2 separate regions of the Homo sapiens genome follow, and region 2 is linked to region 1. Evidence: promoter capture Hi-C in 16 types of primary human blood cells and fetal thymus (Javierre and others, 2016). All regions are on one chromosome and are shown on one strand. The core of a region is centred on a gene start or on the middle of the fragment in contact, and the rest is flanking DNA. Distances in the headings are between cores, read along the strand shown. Region 1 holds the start of GAD2 (glutamate decarboxylase 2). Region 2 has its middle 59 kb from the start of MYO3A.

The links. Contacts are between HindIII fragments. The CHiCAGO score rates a contact against its expected background, and 5 or more counts as called.
Region 2: a contact is called between a fragment that was not itself captured here and the fragment with the promoter of GAD2 in region 1, in 1 of 17 cell types (total B cells). The highest score is 5.8, in total B cells.

Annotation. Positions count from the first base shown.
Region 1 is chr10:26,211,773-26,218,191 of GRCh38, reverse strand. GAD2 (glutamate decarboxylase 2) reads right to left here and starts at 1,418. Exons shown (of 16, transcript NM_001134366.2): 1 at 1,307-1,418; 2 at 523-582; 3 at 201-350. The coding sequence starts at 1,382. It overlaps MYO3A (myosin IIIA), which reads right to left. Exons shown (of 35, transcript NM_017433.5): 35 at 5,660-6,349. The coding sequence ends at 6,229. RefSeq lists enhancers at 1-94, 2,704-3,270, 3,271-3,836, 3,837-4,404. The HindIII fragment of the contact is 6,458 bases long and covers 1-5,723 here.
Region 2 is chr10:25,872,073-25,878,592 of GRCh38, reverse strand. No RefSeq gene overlaps it. Among named protein-coding and RNA genes, the nearest start is that of MYO3A, 59 kb to the left of the region's middle. RefSeq lists a silencer at 2,749-2,928. The HindIII fragment of the contact is 1,055 bases long and covers 2,877-3,931 here.

The DNA.
Region 1 (6,419 bases), core at 169-2,668:
CTCCGAGGCCAGGTTCGGGGGCTTGGACCCAGCGGGCAGGTCCCGCATTTCTCGCTTTTATCTGAAGATTCTGGCAGGTCCCGCCTCCGCTGCCACCTCGACGCCCCTGTCCGGCTCTCAGCGCCGGACCCGCACCGGCCGCGGTGGGCGGGGCAGAGAGAGGGGCAGGGGCGCCCCGGGGCTCCCCGCTGAGTCTTTACCTGTTGCATGGAGAAACGCGTAGTTGACATCCACTTTGGAGCAGCTGCAGGGCTTCTGGTCGCAGGCGCAGGCGGCCTTCCGGGCGGCGGCCCGCGGGGGTTGGCTCCCGCCGCTCTCCGCCGGCTTCTCGGCGTCTCCGTAGAGCAGGGCTGGGTAAGGACACCGAACGCGGGCCTCGTCAATCCTCCGCCGGGCCCGGCTCCCTCGCTCCCGCCTACCCGCAGCCAGGAAACCCCGACTCCGCTGACTGGGATGCGGAGGTGAGAAGACTGCTTGGACCCCGCGGGCCGACCTTGGCCGCCCCGGTCCCTGGGCACTCACCGCACAGTTTGTTTCCGATGCCGCCCGTGAACTTCTGAGCCACTTGGCACCAGGCTCGCGCTGCAAGGAAGAATAGGCAGGCAGACAGCGAGGCAGAAAGAGAACAACAGACGGACGTGTGAAATTTCGTTCTATGTGAAAATCAATCAGTCCGGGGTCCTAGGAGGGGCCGCCTTCCTCCTGGGGGCCGCTCAGGACTCGGTGAGGCCGGCAGGTGCAGAAGGCAAGCGGGAGGCTGGCGGCCCGGGCCAGCCCTCATTTCCTTTATCTGTTTCCCGAGGAGAAGCCCACACCGCTGCCCTTCCAGGTGCCAATCGGCTCAGGCAAATTCCTCTCCCTGCCTACCTTGGACGAGTTTTCCTAAACACTGAAGCTATCCATTTTTTCGCAGACTGTCTTTCTAGATAAAGAAATCTCTCACCTTTCCCATTTTTTTTTTCTATCTTCACGGTCACTCCGTCCCACCCCAGGGTCCAGACACCCGGATCTTAGCAGCGCCCCAGGACCACGGAATTCCATGTCCCCGAGACACCGCGGTCTTTGGGGGGCTCTTCCAACCTTCTGTGGAACGGGCCTGAGACTATTTGGGCGTCTTCCCAGGGTACAAGAGGCTGTAGAGGTCTTGAGCTCTTGGGCCGTCAAGGACTTAGCCCAAAAGCAGGGAGAAGCGCCCGAAGAAGTTTCCTGTTGCAGGTGGAAAAACCTCCTTCGTCTTCTCCGTAGTTCCGCAAACCCCAGACCACCGCAAAACTCGCCCGCCGCAGGCCCCCGTTCTCCTTCCTACCTGTGCCGGGATTCTCGGAATCCCCAGAGCCATCTTCCGACCCGAAAGACCAAAAGCCAGAGCCCGGAGATGCCATCGGCTTTGGAGACTGGAGCAGGTCGCCTGCGAGTGCGAGCTGCGGGCGAGCTGCCTCGGGCTTGGCCCTGCGCGCGCGTGCGTGCCCGTGTGGCGGGAGGAGGGCACCGCGCGGGGACCGGCGGGGCCGAGCGGCGAGGGCGGGTGTCACGCAGGAACAGAAAACGTGCGTGTCTGTGCGTGTGTGTATGCGAGCTGGAGACAGGGTTTAGGGACGTGGCAACCCTTTGGAAGCCGGGGAGCTTTAAAAGAGACCGGGACTACCTAAGGGTCCTCGGAGCCCGGACTCAGGAAAGCGCGGAGAGCCCCAGAGCATTTGAGGGAAAGGGAGCCCAGTGGGGATGAATGAGGGGGCGGCGGAGGAAAAAAACACGAGAGAGGGAGGGAGCTGAGTCGTGAGGATGCGAGGCAGACCATGCACGCCAGCTGGAGTCAGAGTGAGGGGGTGGGAGGCGTGCCAGCGCGTCCTCGGGCGAGCCAGAGGCGGGAAGTGCGGGCGGCCGCTGTCCCGGGTGCTGCCACAGCCGCTGCGCGCCAGCGTCAGCGAGGGGCAGACTGGGGAGACCTCGGCGAGGCGGGAAGCGTGGCCCAGAGGAGTTTTCTGTGTGCATCGATTGGGGTTTTGTTTGAGGTCTGGCTCCAGCTGAGGGGAAGGAAGCGGGGTTCCCGCGCCGTTTTCCTCCAAGCAGGTGCTGAGGTCACTGCGACCTCGAGAGCTCGCGCCCCGGGCGGGCATCAGGCGCCGTTCACGAGCCTGGGGAGGGGACGGCGGGGGAAGGGCTCCTACCCGCTGATGGGCTCATTTCAGCGCCTTGGTAGAACCTGACGCCTGCCTGCTGAACCGCGCCGTACCCGGGGGCGCACCGTTCCTGCGTAGCCAAGGGCTAGATCGCGGGACCCACCGTCCAGGCTCTGAGTGACGGCTGGGGAGAATGACTGCTGATTGAGGCAATTAAAATCCACGCTGGAGTCTACTGAGGACCTCGGGCTGGGGAAAAAAAAATAAAACGAATGGAAACTTCTTGGAAGAGAATGAGGCAGAGCGGCCAGAGTCGGCAGGATTGATGGCGGGTGGGGGATGGAATCAGGGCATTTGGTGACCTTGGCCCGCGGAGGCGTGGAAGCGCCCGCTGCTTGCGTGTAAGGGGGATCTGTGTGCGCCTGGGAGGGGAGAACAGGGTTTCCAACTAAGCAATCTCGGCTTTACAAATCCGAGTAGGAAAGAAGGCATCGCCTGCAGGGCCCTCGTTTTAAGGGGCTTCAAACCAATGCCCCCCCTCGCCCCCAGAGAATCTTCGCGGTAGCGGGTGACCCGGAAGCGCGAGATTGGTTCTCTCTGAGGCGTATTAGGAGGCGGTTTCTCTTTTTCTAATAAAGAAAGGAGGAGAAAGTCAGAATCGTTCTGATGATTTCCTTTCTACAAAAAGCTATTGCAGACAGGGAGGACGCCCTAAGGATTGGGAGCCCTTTGACAGTTTGCGCTGCGTTCTCCTGGCAGTGGAGATGAACTTCAAGTGCACCTCGGAGCTCCGGGGCTCTGGGGGAGACGGAGGGAGGGAGAGAGAGGAAAGGGCTGAGGTCGGCTTCCCGAGGCGGCTGCCTTCCCCGCGCCTGGCCAGAGCGCCTGTCATTTCCATTGTGTTCACAAGTCGTTTTATTTCTCTGACCTCCTGAACCAGCCACCAAAGCTGCTAACAAAGCAGAGACCCGGGGATCCCGTCTGGGCGAGCACCCCTCGACCCTCGCTTAGAAGGGACATCCTGGGGCCCATGCTGGACGCATACAGGCCCAAGTCCTGTGTGCTCGAGCATAACTGTCCCTGGTCAATTCTCTCCACAAAGCGCTGTCTTCTTCTCGCGTGCCTGAGTCCAGGGGTTCCCTGAGGAGTCATGGGATCCACACTATGGCAACTGGGCCCAGGCGCCAGGATGAGAGCAGGAAACCAGTCGGGCGTTGATAGCGTCCTGCCGAAGGCTGGCACTGAGCGTGCTAGGTGAAGTCTGTTCCAGGCTGTGGGAGCCCGGGTGGTCGAAAACTCAGGGCTCAGTTTGGCTCCTCTTTCTTGCTCTCCTGGCTCTGACACTCTAGGTCACCACAATAACAACTCCGGAAACCTAAAGACTTGTGGTTCAGCCATCTGCACTTCAGGCATGGCAGCTCCGCAGCTCTCTCCAGCCTCGCAGAGGCTGGTTCTTTGTTGAAATCCATATCAAATCCTGCAAAGGTTTTCCTTCAAGCCAGCAGTCTAGGGTTGCAGAACTTTTCTACTATGGATGAGTGGTTGAAAACATAAAGGTTCTTAAAAGCAAGCGTTTAAATCACACAAAACCCCCAAAGAAGAAACGGATTAAAACACCTGAATTTAACTGATTTTTTTTTCTTTTTGGTAAAGCAATGGCTTCAAGTGCTACCGTTTAAACTCCATTAAATCCCACAGCTCTGGAGTACTTTGGATCTAATGGTGATATTTACATTTTTTATTTAAACACACCCTACTTCAGATGCAGATGGAGATCTGATTTGTCTTTCCTGAAGGCTGTCCCTCCCTAGACGGTAATTTGCTTTGTAATGACTTTCATTTCACTAAAGAGCCCATTCCCCCTCTCCGGGGCTTGGGGTTGGAGATAACAAAAGAGCTCTGGGAGGTAATAATTACAGTCATTAGTTCACAAAGGAGGCAGCCAGTGAATGGGAAGGGAAGGCGGCCGCTTTGGAAGGCCCTTCCTCAGATGAGGGGCGAGAGACCCAATCCTCCGACTTGTAGGGACAGTTTCCTTAGGTGTCTGGTTTACCAACATATGGGTCTCAGGCTGACCCAAAGAAGAGTGTCTGGCACACATTTTCCTGTGTCCTTCCCGTGCTTAAATGTCAAAGGACAGAGAAAGAAGGGAAGATGGAAAGAAAAAGAGGAAACAACCACGGAAGAACACAAAAATATTGCAACCAAGCATTCACCAAGCCTTTGCCATTCTCTTTTCTATTCTCACTTAAAACATTGGTGCAGGAAAAATTTAGGGAGGGAGTCTGTTGCCTCCCTCCATAAATTCTCCCTACACCAACAGAAATAACAGAAGGGGCTGAGTGCCAGGGCTCTTGTCTTCAGGGGCCACCCAAGAAGGACGCCTAGATTGAAGGGTGGCCAGGCAGAAAAGCTGAGCTTAGCTTACTGCTCCTTACCCCTGGCCCCTGCTCCGCCCTCCCCACAAACCCAGGCCTTCTGGAGGCAAGTGGACAGGCAGCTAGAGGTGGAAGGGGGCCAGGCCACTTTGGGCTTTAGACACCCCTGCCCCTCCCAAGCCCCTCTCTCTGGTGACCTGCTGTGCTGGTTTCCTGGGTACTGGGCCATACTCAGCTCCTCAGTGCATTCGCACAGCTGAGGGTTACTCCTTACTTTCAGTCGCAACCCCAGCAAGACTGTGCCGCTAACCCAGGGAAAAAGAAGGCCTGGAGGGCACTTGGACTCTGCCATGCCATAGCTGCAGGTTTTCCCTTGGCCACATTGCATCTGTAAAATGAAGAGATTACACGAGTTGGCTCTGGGGACCTTTTGGTGCCAACTCTTTGAGTTGGCGAGATTACTATGCCCTGTGGACCAGCGGCGCAACAAACGCTCTGAGCCCTCTGCACATGCCCTCACTCACTCCTCGAATATTTCCCCAGAGTCTTTTGACTCCGGCTTGTGGGTGCAGGAGCCAAGGGCACCCACACAAGGGGTGAGCCCCATCGTGATCAGAACCCTTCTTCCAATTCCATGCAACGACCTCATCACCTGTCCTCACCCTCTCCAGGTTGCTTAGATGGGAATGTCAGTTTCATAAAACAGCTTAAACCGGGTTTTAGAATAAGGTGCAGTCAACCCAGGAATGCAAACTTCTGTCCACCCACTAGCCTCCCCCATTTTAAATACACACAAAGTCGGAGTAGCAAAGATGGCCCCAAATCTGCAGACCGGGAGAACCTGAAATCTGACAGTTCCACCCAGTGGGGGCACTAGCATCTTTATAGATGGGGCCAAAGACAGTCACGCAGATTGGGAAGGCATCGTGCAGGCGAGCACGTGTGGTGTGTTGGGGATTTAGACATTGGAGGCCTCTGCGTTTGTGTGGCAAGGGGTTTTAGCTTAGATTGTGTTTGTCTGAAGTGGCTGGGTGGTGCTGGGAGTTCGCTGATGAAGGCACCTCAACGCCCCTCCTTGGGCCCGTCACCAGCACAGCCTTATAGCAGAAGCCCCTCAGAAGCCCTAGAGGGGAAAATGAGGGATCAGTCACGCAAACCACGGGTTTTCCAAGGCACTTCCTTTATTTAGTGACCTTAATAACCAAAGGAAGAGAAAGAGCAAGCTTGAGATGAAATACATCTTCGAAATTCTCCCCACCCCTCCCGGGCTTTTTTCTCTAAGATTCAACCGCTAGCAAGTGTTCTGTTGGCCAAGAAAAGCCGTTTCCAATAAAAAAAAAAATCTGTGAATTCAGTCACCCCAAATGAGAGAGGGGTTGGCGAGATCCCAGGCGCAGTGGAGTCCACAGGAGTCACAAAAAAAAAGAACAAAGTGATAGATTAGGGGAACAAGGACAGGGTTGCCACAACTGGCGGGCTGGTGAGAAAGGAGGGTGCGGGAGTTCCGAGAGAGAGCGTCGGGGGAGGTTTCCCGAGGGCTCCCAGGTCTCTTGTTTCGGAGCACGAAGGCCGGCCCGGGCACTTGAGGGCCGAGCGCAGCAGGCAGCCTCTGCGGAGATCAGGGCCGCAGCTTCAGTGCCTGCTGGTGCCAGCCCCAGAGTGCCTGCTTGGCCCCTGCTGCCCCGCAGGCTCCAGCGCCTTCCGACGGCGGTGACTGCCTCGTTGAACGGTTAGGACTGCTGGACGAGGCGCCGGCGCTGGGAGGTTTTGCGCAGGAGCCTCCTGAAGTCGTAGGGGTTGGCTGCTGGCTCTCTCTCCTCCTCCTTCTCGGGGCTCTCCGCCGCCCAGCACCTGCAAGTGAAACCCAGGGCCCAAGTGTCAACCTCACCACAGTGAGCAGCGCGTCCCCACCTACCCCGAG
Region 2 (6,520 bases), core at 2,155-4,654, 340 kb after region 1:
TTCATGGAAGACAATTTTTCCAGACAAGGGTGGGTGGTGGGGGGATGGTTTGGGGATGATCGAAGTGCATTACATTTATTGTACACTTTATTTCTATTATTATTACATTGTAGCATATAATACAATAATTATATAATTCACCGTAATGTAGAATCAGTGGGAACCCTGAACTTGTTTTCCTGCAACTAGACTATCCCATCTGGAGGTGATAGGGTCAGTGACAGATCATCAGGCATTAGATTCCCTTAAAGATTGTACAAACTAAATCCCTTGCACACATGGTTCTCAACAGGGTTCACGCTCCTATGAGACTCTAATGCTGCTGCTGATCTGACAGGAGGTAGGGCTCAGGTGGTACTGTGAGTGATGGGAAGCATCTCTAAATATAGAGGAAGTTTTGCTCACTTGCCCACCCTAACCTCCTGCTGTGCAGCCTGGTTCCTAATATGCCACAGATCAGGACGGATCTGTGCCCTGGGGGTTGGGGAGCCCTGCCACAGCAGACACTAAAAATAGAAACTTTTCTTCATATATATGTATATATCTCTATTATTGGCTCTGGCTCATATTCTTATGTATTTATTTATTTTAGACACAGGGTCTCACTGTTGTCCGGGCTGGAGTGCAGTGGTGTGATCATGGCTCACTGCAATCTTGAGCTCCTGGGCTCAAGGGACTCTTATGCTTCAGCCTCCCGAGCAGCCAAGACTATAGGCATGAGCCTCCAAGCCTGGTCTACATATTCTAACTGGTTTAAAAAAAAATGTTGCACTTAACTAGTTACTTTGAAATGACAGTTTACAATAATGGAATTTAATTTAGCATACAGTTATTTTAGCAGATACTGAGATAATAATTCATGACCTGGGAGATGTCCCTAAAACTAAACATTCCTTCAGAGCAGTTAACTATTCTATTGAAAAGACTAATTTTTAAAAAAGAACCTTGTGGCTAAGCAACACAAAGATTTAAACTCTATTGACTGTCTTAGTGTAAATTTTCACTTGCTCTTCATGTGGAATCATGAGAGTTTGTCAGATGGAGCTGAGACAGAAATAAAGGCTCATGTGGGAGGCTGAGGCTGCCAGTCAAAGGGCTCACTATTGACTCACTCCCACTGGGAGACTGGGATGCCAGGACCTTCCACAATTTGATTGTTCACTGGGTTCTAACACCAAACCCAAGTCCACTCTGTCCACCTTGGGGATCTCATTATTAGAACCATCTATCAGCTGCCTCACTTTGCCAACATTAACTAGAAATGTGATTTCAATTCTGTATATCAGAAATGCAATTAAAATACATTGATTTTATTAATGAGTTTCATATTTCACAAAAGATTTGATGGAAAACAGATTTTTTTGAGACATTTCAAGGACTTTTCATAAGATATAAGTCTTCCCCCAAATCTTTGAGATGTGTTTTTTATCCCCATTTTACAGTTGAGGAATTTAAAACTTGGGATATGATGATAGTTTGTATCTAACTCCAGATTTATTTATTTATTTATTTATTTATTTATTTATTTATTTATTTATTTATTTATTTTTGAGACGGAGTCTCGCTCTGTCGCCCAGGCTGGAGTGCAGTGGCGCGATCTCGGCTCACTGCAAGCTCCGCCTCCTGGGTTCACGCCATTCTCCTGCCTCAGCCTCTCGAGTAGCTGGGGCTACAGGCACCCGTCACCACGCCCAGCTAATTTTCTGTATTTTTATTAGAGACAGGGTTTCATCGTGTTAGCCAGGATCGTCTCGATTTCCTGACCTCGTGATCCGCCCACCTCGGCCTCCCAAAGTGCTGGCATTACAGGCGTGAGCCACCGCACCCGGCCAACTCCAGATTTATTTGACTCCAAAGTTTGTGTTCTTTCATTTATCCTTACTTTTCCTCAAAAGAAAGGAGGCTAAAGCTATTGACTAAAAGAATGTTTAGAGATTAACAAATGCATTTCAACCCTGTATCCAATTCCTGTTACTATTACCAAAGATCTGAACAACCACAGAAACAGCTTATAACCTACCAAAACTCCAGAAGCAGTAAGTAGCATTAACCTCAAACAGGGAATCCGAACAACAAAATTCCTCTATAAAATATTTAATGACATTTTAACTTAGCATATGAGTAGTAATTCTCCTGAGAATAAAGCTGTTGTCTTGGATGAATATCATACCAGATTTAACTTATTATATGAGTAGTAATTCTCCTGAGAATAAAGCTGTTGTCTTGGATGAATATCATACAGGAGGTTGCTTATGAAACTGACACCTGGAATCCACTCCCACACTTACCCATGTTGTTCCCTTTTATGTTGATGTTACAGCCAGTTAAAAACAATTCTATCTGGACAGGTAGGTATGGTTAATAGCTAAGGTATTGTTAGCCATTAACATTTTGTTTCAAATTAGATAACCAGATTAACAAACTGGCCACTTAATAAGCCCCTCCTAGGAAATAGAAGCTAGGACATGTTAATTTTGAGGGAAGAGGTCAGAAAATTAGCAGAACATTGAATAAGTTTGGGTGGAATTCTGCATTGAAAAATAATTCCTGATGTGAAGAAAGACTCCATAAACCTCCATTAAGATGCTCTTCAATTCTAACATTTTATAATAAAATAATGTTACAGACAAGTGAACATTTTTATAACCTCATTTTTCTTAGGGTCAATTTTGCATAAAAAGAAAGTAAATCAATACCAGTTTCTGAAATTTCGAATATAGGAAATCATGCAAACAAAAACTCCCGCCATAATCCCTTGACAATATCTCTTCTCAGTGTACCCAAGAAGGCCAAAGGGTACCGTGACTGTCGAGCACACCAAGCTCCACGCGCCCTCTAGTGCATCCCTCTGGAAATGCAGCTACTAGTCCTAAGCTTAGGTATTTTCTCTGTTAAGAAAACAATTTCCAGAGCAGCTGTACTTAAAATCTGTTTATCCTGCATAGCCAACTCACCCTGAGGTGTTTCTCCAGGGTTCACATAAATTCGTTAAGTTAACTTAATCATTTCCCATCTATTCTCAAAGTTGACTTACAAGAACTCATAAAATATGACAAAATTGAAAACATTAGGCTGCATTGGATGAGAAAAGATAACAAGGGTGAGGCAAAGTGATCAAGAAATTAAATCAAAATACATGTAAAATAACAACTGACCATCCTCCCATCGATGATATATTTAGCTGTGTATTAATCAGGATGCACCAGGTTCTACTATGGTAAAGACAGCTCCCAAATCTCAGGAGTTTTTGACAACAGTGCTTTAATTTCTCTTTCGTTACAGATCTCAGGCTTATTTTTGGTTTCTAAGCGAATGGAGCAGCCATTGTCACTCACACTGCCTGCCACCATGGCAGAGGGGAAGAGCTTTGAAAAATCTTGCATTAGCAATTAAATGCTCTGATCACATCATTTCTACTCACTCTCATTGGCCAGAACTTGCCTCATGTCTCTACCCACAAGAGAGGGGAAAAGTCAGGTCTTCCATGTGTAAGGAGAGGAGGCAGAAATTTGTGGACAGCTGAAAGCCCACTACAGCGTTCCCAGGCAGGGTCAAAAAGGAAACCAGAACAGATCTGACTCAGAGTGTTCATGAAATTAAAAGCAAATACAACAGCTCAGTAAAATTCCAAGTCTTTTTGATTCTAGGGTCAGACAAGAATTTCTCCAGGATTCCTCATAGGACAAGGTATAACATAAATCATGTCATCATAATGCATTTGTGGCCTTTTCTTATAAGGCTCTTGTATAGGTTTATGACATTACAATAATCTACAGTTTGTCTAAACAATACTCTCTGGAAGAGTCGAATTATAGGTATCTTCCTCTTTGCTAAACTTCTGCATCAGAGACATATGTAAGCATTCCACCTTGCACACTGTGTTTAGTTATTTGAAGGGCAGTGAACACTAGGTTGTGTTCTCGAGGAAGCTTCTGGACAAGAGCTAGTTCTTTGCTTATAGGTGAGAACCAACTCACCTTCCTTCTCCCTTCCCTTCCCATCCCTTCCCTTCCCTTCCCTTCCCTATCCTTCCCCTCCCTTCCCCCTTCCCTTCCCTTCCCTTCCCTTCCCTTCCCTTCCCTTCCCTTCCCTTCCCTTCCCTTCCCTTCCCTTCCCTTCCCTTCCCTTCCCTTCCCTTCCCTTCCCTTCCCTTCCCTTCCCTTCCCTTCCCTTCCCTTCCCTTCCCTTCCCTTCCCTTCCCTTCCCTTCCCTTCCCTTCCCTTCCCTTCCTTTCCTTTCCTTTCCTTTCCTTTCCCTCCTCTCTTCTTCTCTTCTCTTTTTCTTTTTCTTGACAGGGTCTTGGTCTGTCTGCCAGGCTGAAGTGTGCCATCATAGCTCACTGCCAGCAACGTCAAACTCCTAGGCTCAAGTGAACCTCTCACCTCAGCCTCCCAAGTAGTTAGGACTACAGGCTCATGCCTGGCTAATTTTTTAATTCTTTTTTTTTTGTAGAGACTGGGTCTCACTATGTTGCCCAGGCTGTTCTCAAGCAATCCTCCCTCCTTGGCCTTCCAAAGCACTGGGATTACAGGCATGACCCACTGCATCTGGTTCCAAATTATCTTTCTTAATCATGATCAACTAAGGGTTGGTTAAGATCCAAATATGGAAACTGAGGAGCCAAGAGGGGCTCTTTCGTAACCAGAATCCATGCTAGTGTTCTGAGGTGAGCTGAGAGAGGAACCAAAATTTGGGCCAAGATCGTTTCCAGACAGTTCTGAATTTTTCTAATTGTACAGATAAGTGGTCAATTAATAGATTTTCCATGGTTCTATTTCATTGCCAGGGGCAAAATAGTTTTAGCCTGAAATTTGTAAGACAAGGCATAACTAGACCTTCATTTCAGCCACCTTAAACTACCATCCGAATGCCCAGGTTTGAACAATTCTACTTCTAGAAGAATCCACAATAAAACAAATGTTTGAGAAGGCTTTCCATCCTGAACTTTTATAATAAAATAATGTCACAAATTTTATAATAAAATAATACTATTTTATTAATAATAATTTTGCCTAGGAATTCTATGTATTACCAATTTAAAAGCTGGAGACTTGTCTTCTAAAACAATAATAATAATAAACTTTAATTGACTGTTTGCTGTGGCCAAGCAGTGTGGTAAGTAAGCACTTCAAATGTAGTATCTCATTTAATTTTACGGGCAAAATCTGTTACTACTCCTAATCTACAGATGAGGTAGAGTGAGGTCATATAATTTGTCTAAGGTCAAACAGGCTAACAAATGATAGAGCTAAGGGTTTTGACAAGACATCTAAATCTAGAACACATGTGCTTAGCAACTACATTTTCACCTTTCATGAATAATATCTTCATTTTTAGGAAAATATAGCTATGGTTCTTATGCAGAGAGATAATTTACTAGCAGGGTCAGTACTTGTCAGCTTTAGATAGTAAAAGCATCAACTGCATATGGAGGCAAACTGGTTTTCCTACTTTTGGTACACCAGCTGCACCCAAAATTGGTAATTGATTGACTACTAGAAAACAAGTTTGGGTTTTTTTTGTTTGTTTTTTTTGTTTTTTGTTTTTTTTTAAAGGGACTCAGCAAAACTGCTGTGTTTTCCTTTGCAGGAAGATTTATTTTATTTTATTTTATTTTTCAACTTTTATTTTATGTTCCAGGGCACACGTGCAGGAGATGCAGGTCTGTTACATAGGTAAACGTGTGCCATGGTGGTTTGCATTTTTTTAGGTACAATGTCTTGCTCTGCTGCCCAGGCTGGAGTGCAGTGGTGTGCTTATGGTTCACTGTAGCCTCGACCCCCCTGGGCTTAGGTGATCCTCCTGCCTCAGCCTCCCAAGTTACTGGACTACAGGCAAGTGCTACCATGTCCAGCTATTTTTTTTAATTTTAATTTTTGTAGATATGGGCATCTTGCCATGTTGCCAAGCTTGGTCTTGAACTCCAGGCCTCAAGCAATCCTCTCGTCTCAGCCTCCCAAAGTGCTGGGATTATAGCCATAAGCCACTGTGCCCGGCCTGCAGGAAATTTTAACTACTGTCAGAAAGCCACTCCCACCGTCTCTTGTTCATATTAATATGGTTTAGTTCTCCATGAGCACCAAAACCCAAGGATCTATAACATTCTCCTACAACTTAGTCCCAAAACAACTTTTGTTCTGGAATTAAAGGCAAAAAAAAAAAAATCCTATTTAGTGTTGCAGACTTTGACCTACATCTGATGGCTTAAACAGCTGTCCACACTGCACTTTGTTCAGGAAACTAGCTTCAAGTAGCTCATTTTCAACAAACTTATCCTGGGTAAAGAGCACAACATCAAGTGGCAGTACTGCTGAGTTGTCATCGTCATCATCCACACAGGCAGCCCAAAGTCTCTTTGTCTGAAATGTTCTGGTTCTCTTGAAAGAGGTCATTCCTAATGTGTGAAGTACTTTTGAAGGATGATCTTCCATGCTAGTCATTGTGTTTTGATACTTATTGATTGAGAAAATATGTGATGACAAATACTACTGTAAATTCAGCCTCATCTTTGAGTGCATTT